Regions from separate parts of the Homo sapiens genome. Here regions 1 and 2 are each linked to region 3. The links are contacts of gene promoters, found by promoter capture Hi-C in human tissues and cell types (Jung and others, 2019). All regions are on one chromosome and are shown on one strand. The core of a region is centred on a gene start or on the middle of the fragment in contact, and the rest is flanking DNA. Distances in the headings are between cores, read along the strand shown. Region 1 holds the start of GSTM1 (glutathione S-transferase mu 1). Region 2 holds the start of GSTM5 (glutathione S-transferase mu 5). Region 3 overlaps AHCYL1 (adenosylhomocysteinase like 1).

Evidence for each region. Contacts are between HindIII fragments. The study calls those that stand out against the background at their distance.
Region 1: a contact is called between the fragment with the promoter of GSTM1 here and a fragment that was not itself captured in region 3, in 2 of the 25 tissues and cell types used here (liver and lymphoblastoid cells).
Region 2: a contact is called between the fragment with the promoter of GSTM5 here and a fragment that was not itself captured in region 3, in 4 of the 25 tissues and cell types used here (IMR-90 fibroblasts, lymphoblastoid cells, mesenchymal stem cells and 1 more).

What each region holds. Positions count from the first base shown.
Region 1 is chr1:109,686,267-109,691,202 of GRCh38, reverse strand. GSTM1 (glutathione S-transferase mu 1) reads right to left here and starts at 3,386. Exons shown (of 8, transcript NM_000561.4): 1 at 3,294-3,386; 2 at 2,958-3,033; 3 at 2,466-2,530; 4 at 2,074-2,155; 5 at 1,878-1,978; 6 at 837-932; 7 at 639-749. The coding sequence starts at 3,329. RefSeq lists an enhancer at 3,287-3,336. The HindIII fragment of the contact is 14,943 bases long and covers 1-4,936 here.
Region 2 is chr1:109,709,269-109,713,647 of GRCh38, reverse strand. It overlaps GSTM5 (glutathione S-transferase mu 5), which reads right to left and starts at 1,397. Exons shown (of 8, transcript NM_000851.4): 1 at 1,300-1,397; 2 at 955-1,030; 3 at 465-529; 4 at 83-164. The coding sequence starts at 1,335. The HindIII fragment of the contact is 7,760 bases long and covers 1-4,379 here.
Region 3 is chr1:110,021,303-110,025,950 of GRCh38, reverse strand. It overlaps AHCYL1 (adenosylhomocysteinase like 1), which reads right to left. Exons shown (of 17, transcript NM_006621.7): 17 at 2,209-4,277. The coding sequence ends at 4,271. Among named protein-coding and RNA genes, the nearest start is that of STRIP1, 11 kb to the left of the region's middle. The HindIII fragment of the contact is 6,125 bases long and covers 1-4,648 here.

The DNA.
Region 1 (4,936 bases), core at 2,137-4,636, 340 kb after region 3:
GCCCCAGCACCGGGCATTTCAACATATACTCCTTCAACAGGGACACCCACATATGTACCTTAATCCAGCTACAGCCACAGCCCTGGCTCTCAGGATTCCCCACACTGGGGTCCAATCATGCAAAGCTTCTGGAGGTAGCTATGAATATTGCCTGTGGGTTCAGTACTAGACATCAATGTCACCGTTGTGTCAGTCCTACTATTGCCAGCTCCATCTATGGTCATGAAGTTCTCTGCCTCTTCCAAAGTGTCCTGGGCTGTGAAACCCAGGCTAGGTGAAGCCTAAGGCTTTTTCTTCTGTCACAAATGGGAGAGCCCTGACTGCCACCCATAGATCCAGAGGCTCACAGGGAGCCCAGCACAGCCTCCACTAGCTCTGGGACCCTGAGCAAAGGACTGACCCTCTCATTCTTAGTTTCCTTATCTCTAAAATGGGCGAGATAATTCTGTTACCTTACTGGAATGTTATAAAATTCAAATTTCACACAATAGGTATAATGTGCTGGGCACGGTTCGTGGCATGAAACCAGTACTCAATACATGCGAGTTATTCTGTGTGTAGCTCCAGGACTGGGAAAACATCTGAAAGGAGGTAACGGAACAAGGGGCATCAAAGAGAAAGGAGGATGGGGGCATCACCTCAAAGCGGGAGATGAAGTCCTTCAGATTTGGGAAGGCGTCCAAGCACTTGGGCTCAAATATACGGTGGAGGTCAAGGACATCATAGACGAGAAAATCTACAAAAGTGATCTGCAGAAGGCCAAGAATATGTGGGCTGGAACCTCCATAACACGTGAAGCAAAACAGATCTCATTCCCCATATCACTCCTCCTTTACCTTGTTTCCTGCAAACCATGGCCGCTTCCCCAGAAACTCTGAGTAGAGCTTTAGCTTTTCAGGGAGTTCCTCCAAGTACTTTGGCTTCAGTTTCTCCTGAGGCAGAAAACAGCTGTCACCACCCTCGGACAAAAGCTCCCTGCACAGACGTGGCCTCCCCGGGGCTGTGGACGGCCCAGGCTGGCCATGGGCAAGCAGCCATCTTCCCCAAGCTGGAACTGGGGCAGTGCCCAGGCTTCAATTGGATACATCAGCATTTATTAGACTCTGACTGAGTGCCAGACCCTATCTAAACTGATCAGAAGGCAGAGAGGAATGAGATGCTGTCCCTGAATCTGTCCTCACTGACCTCCCAATAGCCTCTGGGTCAGCCCCAGGAGCGCCCAAGCACCTGGCAGCCTCTGGATCCAGACCAGCAGAATCAAGGATGCAAAGAACTAAGGGAGCTCAGGGAAAGTAGAAAGTTCCTTCTAATGGGGTGGCAGAAGAAAACAATGAACATTGACTAGTTTCCAGGGAGATGAGAAGTTCAAGTTGAAAGGAAGGAGGGAGAGGAATAAAGGCCCTCTGACTGCCTCTGAGCTGTCTGTTATGAAAATGCGCAGATCCCTGTGCATGTCAATGACAGCACTCAGAAAACTGTTGAGGAGAAGATGCAATTCGAGGGTGCCATTACATTCCTGAGTCTTCTACTTGAGTCTGCATATTCTAGGAGCAGGCAGGTGATGTGAACTGGCTGACAGAAATGACCCAGGACAGAAGTCAGAGGCCAGAGCTGATGAAGGAGATTCTGAACACAAACTTTACCATACAGGAACTGAATTTCTACCCTGGGATGCCTGGATCGTGTCCTAAGGTTGGTGGGAATTGCCTCTGCTTTTGTTGACATGACATTGGAGTCGTGAGAATAACTGCTGATAGTATGGGAAAGCACTTGGAGGATGAATGGTACCAGGGACTTAAGACCAGTGTGTGCAGGAATGCAAGAGTCCTGGCCCCAAATCCAAACTCTGTCAGATGCAGCTCACTGGGGACACTCACAAATTCTGGATTGTAGCAGATCATGCCCAGCTGCATATGGTTGTCCATGGTCTGGTTCTCCAAAATGTCCACACGAATCTTCTCCTCTTCTGTCTCCCCACCTGCCACCCACAAAACACAGACTCAATCTCAGCATCACAGCCCAGCCAAGGAGGAGGCCACCTTCCCCCCACACATTGCAGCCACCCACACTCACACAGGTTGTGCTTGCGGGCAATGTAGCACAAGATGGCGTTGCTCTGGGTGATCTTGTGAGCCCCATCAATCAAGTAGGGCAGCTGGATGGATGGGAAACCGGCGAAGCTCAGTTGGGCCACCAGGCTCCCCAGCATCCCCTTCCCATAAGCAAGAGCAGAGAGGAGACCGGGCACTCACTGTGCCTGCTCATGGCAGGACTGAAATAAGAATACTGTCACATGAACGAATGCAGGTGGACACAGAACATCATGGAAGGACTGTTTAGACAGCCAGGAGTGAGAGGAATTGGGCAGAAGACTCCTGATCTTAACACCTCTAAGCTGGGGAGAGGAGATGCAGTCAGAGACACGTTGCACTTTCCCCCAAAACCGCCCCTTCCCCTGCACCTACATTGGGAAAGTCCAGGCCCAGCTTGAATTTTTCATTCAGCCACTGGCTTCTGTCATAATCAGGAGCTGTGGTGGGGAAGAAGAAGTGAAAACAAACCTCCCCAGAGCCCAGCCCTCCTTCCCGGGGACCCTCCCACGGAGCCAGTGGCAAGATCCCTGAGACAGGTGGATCTAGAATCTGACCACTCAGTCCCACATCCCAGGGTTCAGGGACAAAGAATCCCGCTGAGGGCTCTGGACCCCACACAGCTAAGGCTTCCAGGGTTTAGGCAAGCCCTGAGGGACACCCGTCCCAATTAGACAGGGGGCCCAGCATCCCACCCCAGCATTCTGCCTTGCAAGGCCAGAGGGCTCCCTCACCGGGGCTCAGGGAAGAGACAGCCTGCAGCTCCAGCAGGGGAGGCCTGCAGAGGCAGCCACAGGTGGCCACCATGGGTTGCTTGGTGCCAACTTAGCGTGAGTGGGCAGAGCCCGAACACGAGGGTGCCATTACCGTCCCCCATCGTGTACTTCTTTTCCTCATAGCTTGAGTCTGTGTATTCCAGGAGCAGGCGGATGGCGTGGGCCAGCTGGGAGAGATGGCCCGCAGGTCGCGTCAGAGATGGAGGGTCCCTGACTTTGTCTGCACCAGGGAAGCCCCCAGTTTACACTGCACGTACCCGTTGCCTCCTCTACCCGCCCACACCCCCAACACACACACAGCGGCATGCACAGGCCCTTCTGAGGCGGGCAGCCCTGAAGAGGAACGGTCCCTAGAGTCCGTCCCGCAGCTGCTTCGCACTTCCCTCCCCTGCGCCCTCGTCCCACCGTCCAGCGGACCCTCGCTCACCCCGCGGATGTCCCAGTACCCCAGTATCATGGGCATGGTGCTGGTTGGTGCGGATTCCGCAGACAGGCCTAAACCGAGCAGGGCTCAGAGTATAAGAGCTCCGGAGAGGGGACAGGCGGGGCCTTGCTGCGACCCCGCCCCTCGGCCCGCCACAACCCGAAAGGCGCCATTCTGGAGGCCCGGGAGAGGGCGCCTGGGGCTGCACTCAGTAAGACTTCCTCCCGCCTCCCAGGCCCGAGGGTTCCGGGAGCGAAGTCAGGGCGCCCAGAAGCCCAAGGCGGGGCTCGGCCTCGCCAGCTTCCCTACCCAGCCCTGAGGCTCCACGAGTCCATCCAGCCCTTGCTAGGTCCACAGCGACTTGGCTGTGCGCTTGAGACACCAGCCAGATCCTAACGGAGCAAAGCTCTTCTCCCTTCTCCTCCCTGCCCGCGGTGTCCCTCAGCCTTCTCTCCGCTGCCGAGTTCCCAAGGGCTCTGGGAGACTCCGGCTGCAGGGGTCAGACTAAAAAGTGGTGGCCCCAACCTGGGAATTTAATTCAGCCCCTGTCACTGTAAGAGCAGGACTTCCTCTGATCCGAAAGCTACTCCCAGGGCTTAGTCTCCCCTCTAGCCCCGCCTACACAGGAACAGTGTCAGTGGTATAGGAAGGACCCCCAGGAAAAGGGCCAGAGTAAAGGAAATGTGGTCTGTGTTTTCTGTTAGGGGCCCTCGGGTACTGAGTCCTTCGGTCATCTGGCTAAGTACTGTGTAAATTAGCCACTTCGTATTTTGGCACAATTTATGAATCGAAATCCAAGGATCAGATCCAGCAAGTTGGTGAGGTATCTGAGGTGCCCCCTAGAAATGTCCAGCCAGTCCACTAGGTGAACCTCACAGAGACCGGAACAGCAACAGCAACAGTGAGTGCAGTGGCCACAGAGAGCAGGCGAGGGAGGATGGAAGAACTTCCCGGACCAAACTGAGGGTCCGGCTGCTATTTCTCTAGGCCCAATAACGAGATGCAGATCAAATGGGGAGGAAGAGAGGTTTTATTTCTGCAACCGGTAACAGGGAGAAGGCCTAGAAATTACCACCAGACCAACTCAATATTACAAAGTTTTCCAGAGCATATATACCTTCTAAGGTATATGTCTACAAGTAAGTGTGCATTCATCTAAAGACATAAGTGATTAACTTCTTTAATCTGTAACTGAGGTCTGGGTCCTGAGGACCTTATTCTGGAGCCTCAGTCTATTTATTTAATCTAAATGGGTCCAGGTGCGGGGGATGATTACCCTTATCTTGTCTCCTGCTAAATCACGGAGGTTTGGGGAGTTCCTTCAGACGCCCAATAAACTTGTTTGTGGAGGCCTGGGGAGTTTCTTCAGACTCACAATAAAACTTGTTTAATTCTAAATAGGTCCTGTTAAGAATTCCTTCATTGTTTTGTCATGCTTTAAGGCCCAGGAAAGGCCTAAGCAAAACTCTTGGTGGGCTTTTGTTACATCCAGCCTCTGTATAAAGGTACTGGCTTTTTTCAGCTTTTAATATTTAACTTCACCACTCAGTCAGTACTGAAACAGTTGTTATGGAGGCCTGTGTTAGTGACGCCTGGCCTGCCACAGAACCTGTCCCTCAGAGAAGCCAGAACCCTGTCCTGCTGAG
Region 2 (4,379 bases), core at 148-2,647, 310 kb after region 3:
AACACAGACTCAATCTCAGCATCACAGCCCAGCCAAGGAGGAGGTCACCTTCCCCCCGCACATTGCAGCCACCCACACTCACACAGGTTGTGCTTGCGGGCAATGTAGCGCAGGATGGCATTGCTCTGGGTGATCTTGTGAGCCCCATCAATCAAGTAGGGCAGCTGGATAGATGGGAAACCGGGGAAGCTCAGTTGGGCCACCAGGCTCCCCAGCATCCCCTTCCCATATGCAAGGGCAGAGAGGAGACCAGGGCCTGCTCATGGCAGGCCTGAGATAGAAATACTGTCACACTAATAAATGAGCTGGGACACAGAACATCATGCAAGGGCTGTGTAGACAGCCAAGAGTGAGAGGAATTGGGCAGAAGACTCCTGATCTTAACACCTCTAAGGTGGGGAGAGGAGATGCAGTCAGAGACACGTCGCACTTTCCCCCAAAACCGCCCCTTCCCCTGCACCTACATTGGGAAAGTCCAGGCCCAGCTTGAATTTTTCATTCAGCCACTGGCTTCTGTCATAGTCAGGAGCTGTGGTGGGGAAGAAGTGAAAACAAACCTCCCCAGAGCCCAGCCCTCCTTCCCGGGGACCCTCCCAAGGAGCCAGTGGCAAGATCCCTGAGACAGGTGGATCTAGAATCTGACCACTCAGTCCCACATCCCAGGGTTCAGGGAGAAAGAATCCCACTGAGGGCTCTGGACCCCACAACGGCTAAGGCTTCCAGGGTTTAGGGAAGCTCTGAGGGACACCCAACCCAATTAGACAGGGTGTCCAGCATCCCGCCCCAGCATTCTGCCTTGCAAGGCCAGAGGGCTCACTCACGGGAGCTCAGGGAAGGGACAGCCTGCAGCTCCAGCAGGGGAGGCCTGCAGAGGCAGCCACAGGTGGCCACCATGGGTTGCTTGGTGCCAACTCAGCGTGAGTGGGCAGGGCCCGGACACGAGGGTGCCATTACCGTCCCCCAGCGTGTACTTCTTTTCCACATAGCTTGAGTCTGTGTATTCCAGGAGCAAGCGGATGGCGTGGGCCAGCTGGGAGAGATGGCCCGCGGCTCGGGTCAGAGATGGAGGGTCCCTGACTTGGTGACTTTCTCTGCACCAGGCCAGCCCCTAGTCTATACTGCACGTACCCGTCGCCTCCTCTACCCGCCCCCACCCCCAAACACACACACAGCGTCATGCACAGGCCCTTCTGAGGCGGGCAGCCCTGAAGAGGAACGGTCCCTAGAGCCAGTCCTGCAGCTACTCCACACATCCCCGCCTCCGCCCCCTGTCCCACCCACCAGAGGACCCTCGCTTACCCCACGGATGTCCCAGTACCCCAGAGTCATGGGCATGGTGCTGGTTGGTGCGGATTCTGCAGACAGGCATCAGCGGAGCGGGGCTCAGACTTTGAGAGGCCCAGGAGGGGACAGGCGGGGCCTTGCTGCGACCCCGCCCCTCGGCCCGCCACAACCCCGAAACACGCCATTCTGTAGGCCCCCGAGCGAGCGCCCGGGGCTGGAATCAATAAGCCCCCTCCCGCCTCCCAGTCCCCAGGGTTCCGGGAGCGAGGTCAGGGCGCCCAGAAGCCCAAAGCGGGGCTCGGCCTCGCCAGCTTCCCCAACCCGCCCTGAGGCTCCATGAGTCCATCCAGCCCTTGCTAGGTCCACAGCGACTTGGCTGTGCGCTTGAGACACCAGCCAGATCCTAACGGAGCAAAGCTCTTCTCCCTTCTCCTCCCTGCCCGCAGAATCCCTCAGCCTTCTCTCCGCTGCCGAGTTCCCAAGGGCTCTGGGAGACTCCGGCTGCAGGGGTCAGACTAAAAAGTGGTGGTCCCAACCTGGGAATTTAATTCAGCCCCTGTCACTGTAAGAGCAGGACTTCCTCTGATCCGAAAGCTACTCCGAGGGCTTAGTCTCCCCTCTAGCCCCGCCTACACAGGAACAGTGTCAGTGGTATAGGAAGGACCCCCAGGAAAAGGGCCAGAGTAAAGGAAATGTGGTCTGTGTTTTCTGTTAGGGGCCTTTGGATACTGAGTCCTTCGGTCATCTGGCTAAGTACTATGTAAATTAGCCACTTCGTATTTTGGCACAATTTATGAATCGAAATCCAAGGATCAGATCCAGCAAGTTGGTGAGGTATCTGAGGTGCCCCCTAGAAATGTCCAGCCAGTCCACTAGGTGAACCTCACAGAGACCGGAACAGCAACAGCAACAGTGAGTGCAGTGGCCACAGAGAGCAGGCGAGGGAGGATGGAAGAACTTCCCGGACCAAACTGAGGGTCCGGCTGCTATTTCTCTAGGCCCAATAACGAGATGCAGATCAAATGGGGAGGAAGAGAGGTTTTATTTCTGCAACCAGTTACAGGGAGAAGGCCTGGAAATTACTACCAGACCAACTCAAAATTAAAGTTTTCCAGAGCATATATACCTTCTAAGGTATATGTCTACAAGTAAGTGTGCATTCATCTAAAGACATAAGTGATTAACTTCTTTAATCTGTAACTGAGGTCTGGGTCCTGAGGACCTTACTCTGGAGCCTCAGTCTATTTACTTAATCTAAATGGGTCCAGGTGCGGGGGATGATTGCCCTTATCTTGTCTCCTGCTAAATCATGGAGGTTTGGGGAGTTCCTTCAGATGCCCAGTAAACTTGTTTGTGGAGGCCTGGGGAGTTTCTTCAGACTCACAATAAAACTTGTTTAATTCTAAATAGGTCCTGTTAAGAATTCCTTCGTTGTTTTGTCATGCTTTAAGGCCCAGGAAAGGCCTAAGCAAAACTCTTGGTGGGCTTTTGTTACATCCAGCCTCTGTATAAAGGTACTGGCTTTTTTCAGCTTTTAATATTTAATTTCATCACTCAGTCAGTACTGAAACAGTTGTTATGGAGGCCTGTGTTAGTGACACCTGGTCTGCCACAGAACCTGTCCCTCAGAGAAGCCAGAACCCTGTCCTGCTGAGGAGGGAGGTCAGAGGATGGTGGCCAGAGAGGAGCCTGAGGGCTCCCCACAGGATCACAGGCAGGGACTCTCCCCTCTCCAGATCCACCATGCCGGACCTGGACCTGGCTCCTGACCCATGTGTGTTCTTCAGTATGAGACGGTGGCTCCAGTGGCCTTTGAAGTCACACCGTGATATGTGACCCATGGTACAACCTCCGCAAGAACAATGTCCAACCTGCCAACTTTCTTCTTTCAAGGTAGAAGGAAGACTTTCAAAAGAGTTGTGCAATGGATTAGCCTGGGGTTGACTGCTTTTTTTAAAGGATATTACAAATAATAATGGATATATGGAAATAGATGATAGACCTTTAATGAGAAATCATTTTGCAATGTAAACCAGGCTGTTGTGCTGCAAAAAAAGTAGTTTTTTGTTTTTTGTTTTTGTTTTTGTTTTTTTGTAAATTAGCTAAAACATTGTTAGGACTCCAGAGGATGAACCCAGTATATCAAAAAAGTTTCAAACCACCTGGATAATGTGTGGTTTGGGGTTGAGTAAACAGGTAGACTTCATCACATCCCTATTAGGCCACAGAAATCAGGTGGTCAGCAGGTGGCTGCTAAGTTGGGGCACTTGGACACTGTGTCACTGAGGCTGGCAAGGCACAGTCCTTGTTGCAAACACTCCCCACCCATCCAGACCTGGGCAGTACTCCCAGCTCAGATACCTGGCAGGTATCCATGTTTAGGAAGCAGTTTTGGCCTCACAGTGAATTCTCACATAGATTTTCCTGCATTGAGGCAATAGCACCAGCACAGACACAAGTGCCTGGCCCTAGGAATCATTATATTTCTCATTATGCATTAAGAGTTTATGATTTTGAGTTAATGGGTCTTGAGCTGTGAAAGATAAGATGTCTAGATCCAATTGATAAAAACGATTTTTTAAGAAAGCTAACACTCATGAGAATAATAATTTTGAAACACATAGAACCAGTACTGTTACATTAGTATTGTTTGAAATACTTGTTCCTTGGTTCCATAAAGAAATAGCACTTGAACATAAATTTAATTTCCTCAGCAAGGCTATCGGGGAAACTGCCCCCAGTATTTCAACATAGGTTCTATTTTCCATAAGTGTCAGCTGGCTGAGAAATAAAGAGAAAGAGTACAAAGAGAGGAATTTTACAGCTGGGCCGCCAGGGGTGACATCACATATCAGTAGGACCGTGATGCCGGCCCGAGCCTCAAAACCAGCAAGCTTTTATTAAGGATTGCAAAAGGGGAGGGGGTGTACGAACGGGGGGTAGGTACAAAGATCACATGCTTTAAGGGGCAAAAAACAGAACAGAGATCACATGCTTCTGAGGAAACAGGACAAGGGCAAAAGTAGAACTCCTGATAAGGGTCTATGTTCAGCAGTGCACGTATTGTCTTGATAAACATCTTAAACAACAGAACA
Region 3 (4,648 bases), core at 1,201-3,700:
GAAGTTCGTTTCTTTCCATTGATTAAGGTGGTCTGCCAGCCAGACTTCACTACTGTGAAGCTACTCTTTTCCCCATTATTTTATTTAAGAAATACTTTATGGAAGGCTACTTTGAAAGTATACATAGGCCAGGCACAGTGGCTCACGCCTGTAATCCCAGCACTTTGGGAGGCTGAGGCAGGTGGATCACCTGAGGTCAGGAGCTCAAGACCAGCCTGGCCAACATGGTGAAAGCCCATCTCTACTAAAAATACAAAAATTAGCCAGGTGTGGTGGCGGAAACCTGTAATCCCAGCTACTCGGGAGGCTGAGGCACAGGAATCGCTTGAACCCGGGAGGCAGAGTTTGCAGTGAGCCAAGATCATGCCATTGCATTCCAGCCTGGGCGACAGAGTGAAGCTCCATCTCAAAAATAAATAAATAAATTAGAAAAAAAGTATATACATATACAATTCCTCATTAAACTTCTGTTTACTTACTCATTCATTTCTATTAGCAGAGTCATAGTTTTCTATTTTGTTCAATGGATTACAAATCATTACTATGCTGATGCTCAGGTTGTCTCAGATTTACCCCATGTAAATCCCTTACAGCTGGCTTATGTATCCTTTTTTAAGGCCTTCCTTGCTTTCTGGTTTATCTTGTACTTTTTTTTGCTCTGCCATGGAATCAGTCATCTCTCCAACGAGTCCTGGCTTCTTTCGGTGGAGAATGTAGTGCCTAGACCTCGAGGTCAGGTATGTGCACTGGGGGAAGAGGGGAACTGCTGCTCCAAGGCTTGCTTAGTAGAGAGAGCTAGGGAGTGTTTGTACACACACACACACGTACATTGACATCTGTATTTCTTTAACTAGGTTGATATTTATGACTTCACACTATCATCTCCTATTCAAACCCAACAGCAGAGTTCATTCTAGTGTTTTCCCTTTCCAATGTGTAACACCTTCCTCCAAAATGAGACAGCTGGCTTCCGCTACCCTTAATATTTTCACGTACAGTGATCAAATCCCTTATCCCTAACTAATCTGCCATTGCCATTCATCCCCTGCATAGATGCATTCCCCACGCCACTTGGGATCTGACTCCTTGTACCAAGCTACATCCCCAGTTCCCACAAGGATACCACCCACACTCACAGGCTGCAAATCCACATGAATCCCTAGCTTGCTCTGTCTTACCTAATGGCCAAATTGTGGGTAAAGGAAAAAGGGAAGGAATTTGGATCTTGTTGGAATTTTACGTAAACACCACAAAGGAAGAGATCATCTGATTTAAACTGATGTATCCCCAGTATCTAAAACAGACTTTGGCATATATGAGGTAATAGTTAGGTCCTTTTTGCCCTTCTACCTTCTGCTATATGAGGATGCATAAGAGGTACCATCTTGGAAGCAGGCAGCAGCCCTCTTCAGACACCAAATCTGCCAACGACTTGACCTTGGACTTCCCAGCCTCCAACTGTGAGAATATCAATTTCTGTTCTTTATAAATTACTCAGTCTCAGGATTTTGCTGGAGCAGCAGAAACTGACCAAGATAAATACTTTCTTACATCAGAAGACACTGGCCAGTAATCCCAGCACTTTGGGAGGCAGAGGCAGGAGGATCACTTGAGCCCAGGAGTTTGAGATCAGCCTAGATTTCATGGCGAAACCCCATCTCTACCAAAAATACAAACAATTAGCTGACACTGTGGTCCCAGCTACTTGGGAGGTTGAGGTGGGAGGATCACTTGAGCCCGGAAGGCAGAAGTTGCAGTGAGCTGAGATCAAGCCACTGCACTCCAACCTGGGTGACAGTGAGACCTTGTCTCAAAAAAATAAAGAGAAAAAAAAAAAAAAAAGACACTGAGACCACTTCAGAAATGGATACAGGTGTGGGAGGAGGCTGAAGCTTACATAACTTTGGGGGCATTCTTCAGAAATTAGGTCTTAGAAGGACTATGCAAATGAGGAACCCTGAGGCTTAAGCAGCAAGTCTGCTTCCTGAAGGAAGTTAGGAGTGAAAGTACCCAGGCCCGGTGCTTGGCACAGAGCAGGCATACAAAACTTCAGGTATTACTTTGAAGAATCCTGTATCCAGCCTCTATATATTAGGCCCTCAACAAATCTCTATTAAATGCTACTGACCTATAACTTGTCACACCCTAGAAAACAGGTTCTAATGAAGTTTTGCTGTTTAACAAAGAATGACACATACGGACTGCCAATAAGGTCTTATCATTTTAATCGATTTTAATGATTATTGCTCATCTGCAAGGATTAATATTGCATTCATTAAAAATCATTCAATACAAAATGAACTTGTTCTTCCCAAGTTGCTCTCCACATGCTCCCTCTGATGCCAGACTTTTTTTTTTTTTTAACAGTGTCCTTTGTTACATGGCTTGACAGAGACAGAGCCCTTACCTATTATTCCTATGGACACGGTAATAGATATGGGATCAAGGGGCAGGTCAGAGGGCAGGTGAATGTGGGTCCCTTCCCTCCAGCAGGGCTAACGTGATGGATACACTGTTGGCCAGGTTACCTCCCCTAACAGATGTGGTGTTCTGATTGGTTGGTTAAGTGCCCGAGGAAAATAGGCCTTAACTGTTAACATCTACAGAGAAGAAAGCATGGTCACACTGGCAAGGAGTAAGAAGGGATTGGGTAAAAGAAAATGGGAGAGAAAAGGGAAAAAAGTTTTGGCAAGACAATTGTTCCCTGCTAAGAAGCTGCAGGGTGAAAGCTTTCCTTTCTTCTATTTTTGTTTTTAATGTCTGTCTCTCTGATCAGTGGAAAAGTGAAAATTTCTAGTATCTAGCACTAACGTATGACCCAACTTTGAGGGATCACAAGCTAGAACAAGTTGAGGATTTAAAATCCTGGATAATTATATACTTAAAGCTCATGAGCATAAAGCTCACTTGACCATGCAGAAATGCTGGGAAGCAGGGTGCATGGCATGGGAATACATCTCCCTGATCTTTGAGAGAGCCTCTCTGGATATTCTTTCAGAGCATGAGCCAGGATGTACTGACTACTTTCTTCACACATCAGTTGCCCTTTATGATCTCAGTTCATAAACTCTTTGTGGTATGTAGCAATCAAAAGTCATATTACTTCTGTAAAACTAACATTATATAGGGTGTATAGTCCCAGACAAATTATATGAAGCTAGATTTTTCTTGCCCTGGCCCAATTTATCATTCCTCCTCCTGCCCACACCTACCTCCCTTTAAATATTTTAGGTTGCAGAAGCACAGCTGACCAGAAATTTGCTCTTAAAGATAAATCCTAAAGATAGAACTCAGTGCTTTATACTGAGTAATGGCTCAAGAAATTCGCCTTCAGCACAAGCTGTATGGTACACAGCTGATAGAATTTGCTGTTGTGGCTCCAGTTCACTGATGCTATGAACTACGGGCTAGAAACAGAGGGACTTAACAGGGCTTGAGACTAGCATTTCTCTAGACTCAGCATCCTTAGCTCCAAAGGTTCAAAAGAGAAATTGGTAACAACTAACCACTCAAGCAATTCCTCAGCATTAACACCAAAAATTCTCCTTAATTTTTCTTTTCTTTTTTTTTTTTTTTGGACAACAGAAATAAATCCTAGAGGACAAAATTAAACTCAATAGAGTGTAGTCTAGTTAAAAACTCGAAAAATGAGCAAGTCTGGTGGGAGTGGAGGAAGGGCTATACTATAAATCCAAGTGGGCCTCCTGATCTTAACAAGCCATGCTCATTATACACATCTCTGAACTGGACATACCACCTTTACGCAGGAAACAGGGCTTGGAACTTCTAAGGGAAATTAACATGCACCACCCACATCTAACCTACCTGCCGGGTAGGTACCATCCCTGCTTCTCTGAAGAAGTGAAAGAGCACTGATTTCAGCAGCTAAGAAATGGGCTCTTTTAAGGCGATTTAGACATTGCAGATTGTTCCACAGAGAAGGTACCTTAGCATTTCCTGTTAATAAGGTACCTAATTAAGACTAAAGTCCCCAGAAATGGTAAAGAAAGAATCACCTTTCTGGGCTGGGAGAGTAAAATCCTTCTTTAGTGACTAGAGTGAGGAACCCTGAACTTCTATTTCATCTAAAGAGCCATGAAGCAAGTTCCTGTGTGGTCTGCAGAACTTGGATAATGAGATGAAAAAACAAGAATGAAATTATAGGAAAAAAATCAAGAGGAAAGGAGTAAGAAGAAAATAAAAGTTATCTTAAAAAATATTTCTTTAGAGTGTGTGGTTCAGGTGGACTGGTCCTTGGTAGTATGGTCCATTAGTATCTGTAAAGAGAGAGAGTGATTGGTTAACACTTATGTCTTCCATATGAGAATTCCAAAAAACAATCGGAAACAGAGCACCTTCTCCAGGGCCCCTCCCCAGCCTGGGTGGGATCCCTGCAGTCATTCCCCAGGGCACCAGTCTCCCTTATTCTTCCACAGGGTCTCTGACAATGCCATTTCTGGTGTTACCGCCTGTTCCCAGGAATGAGTCAGTGTTTTTTCAACCCTGACTAAACATTACAATAATCTGGGGAGGTTTTACAAAATAATGTTTTGTAAATTTGGTCCCATCGCAGACCAAATATATCAGAATCTCTTAGGGTGAGGCCCAGGCTCCAAAATTTCAAAAAAACCCTAACTCCCTGATATCT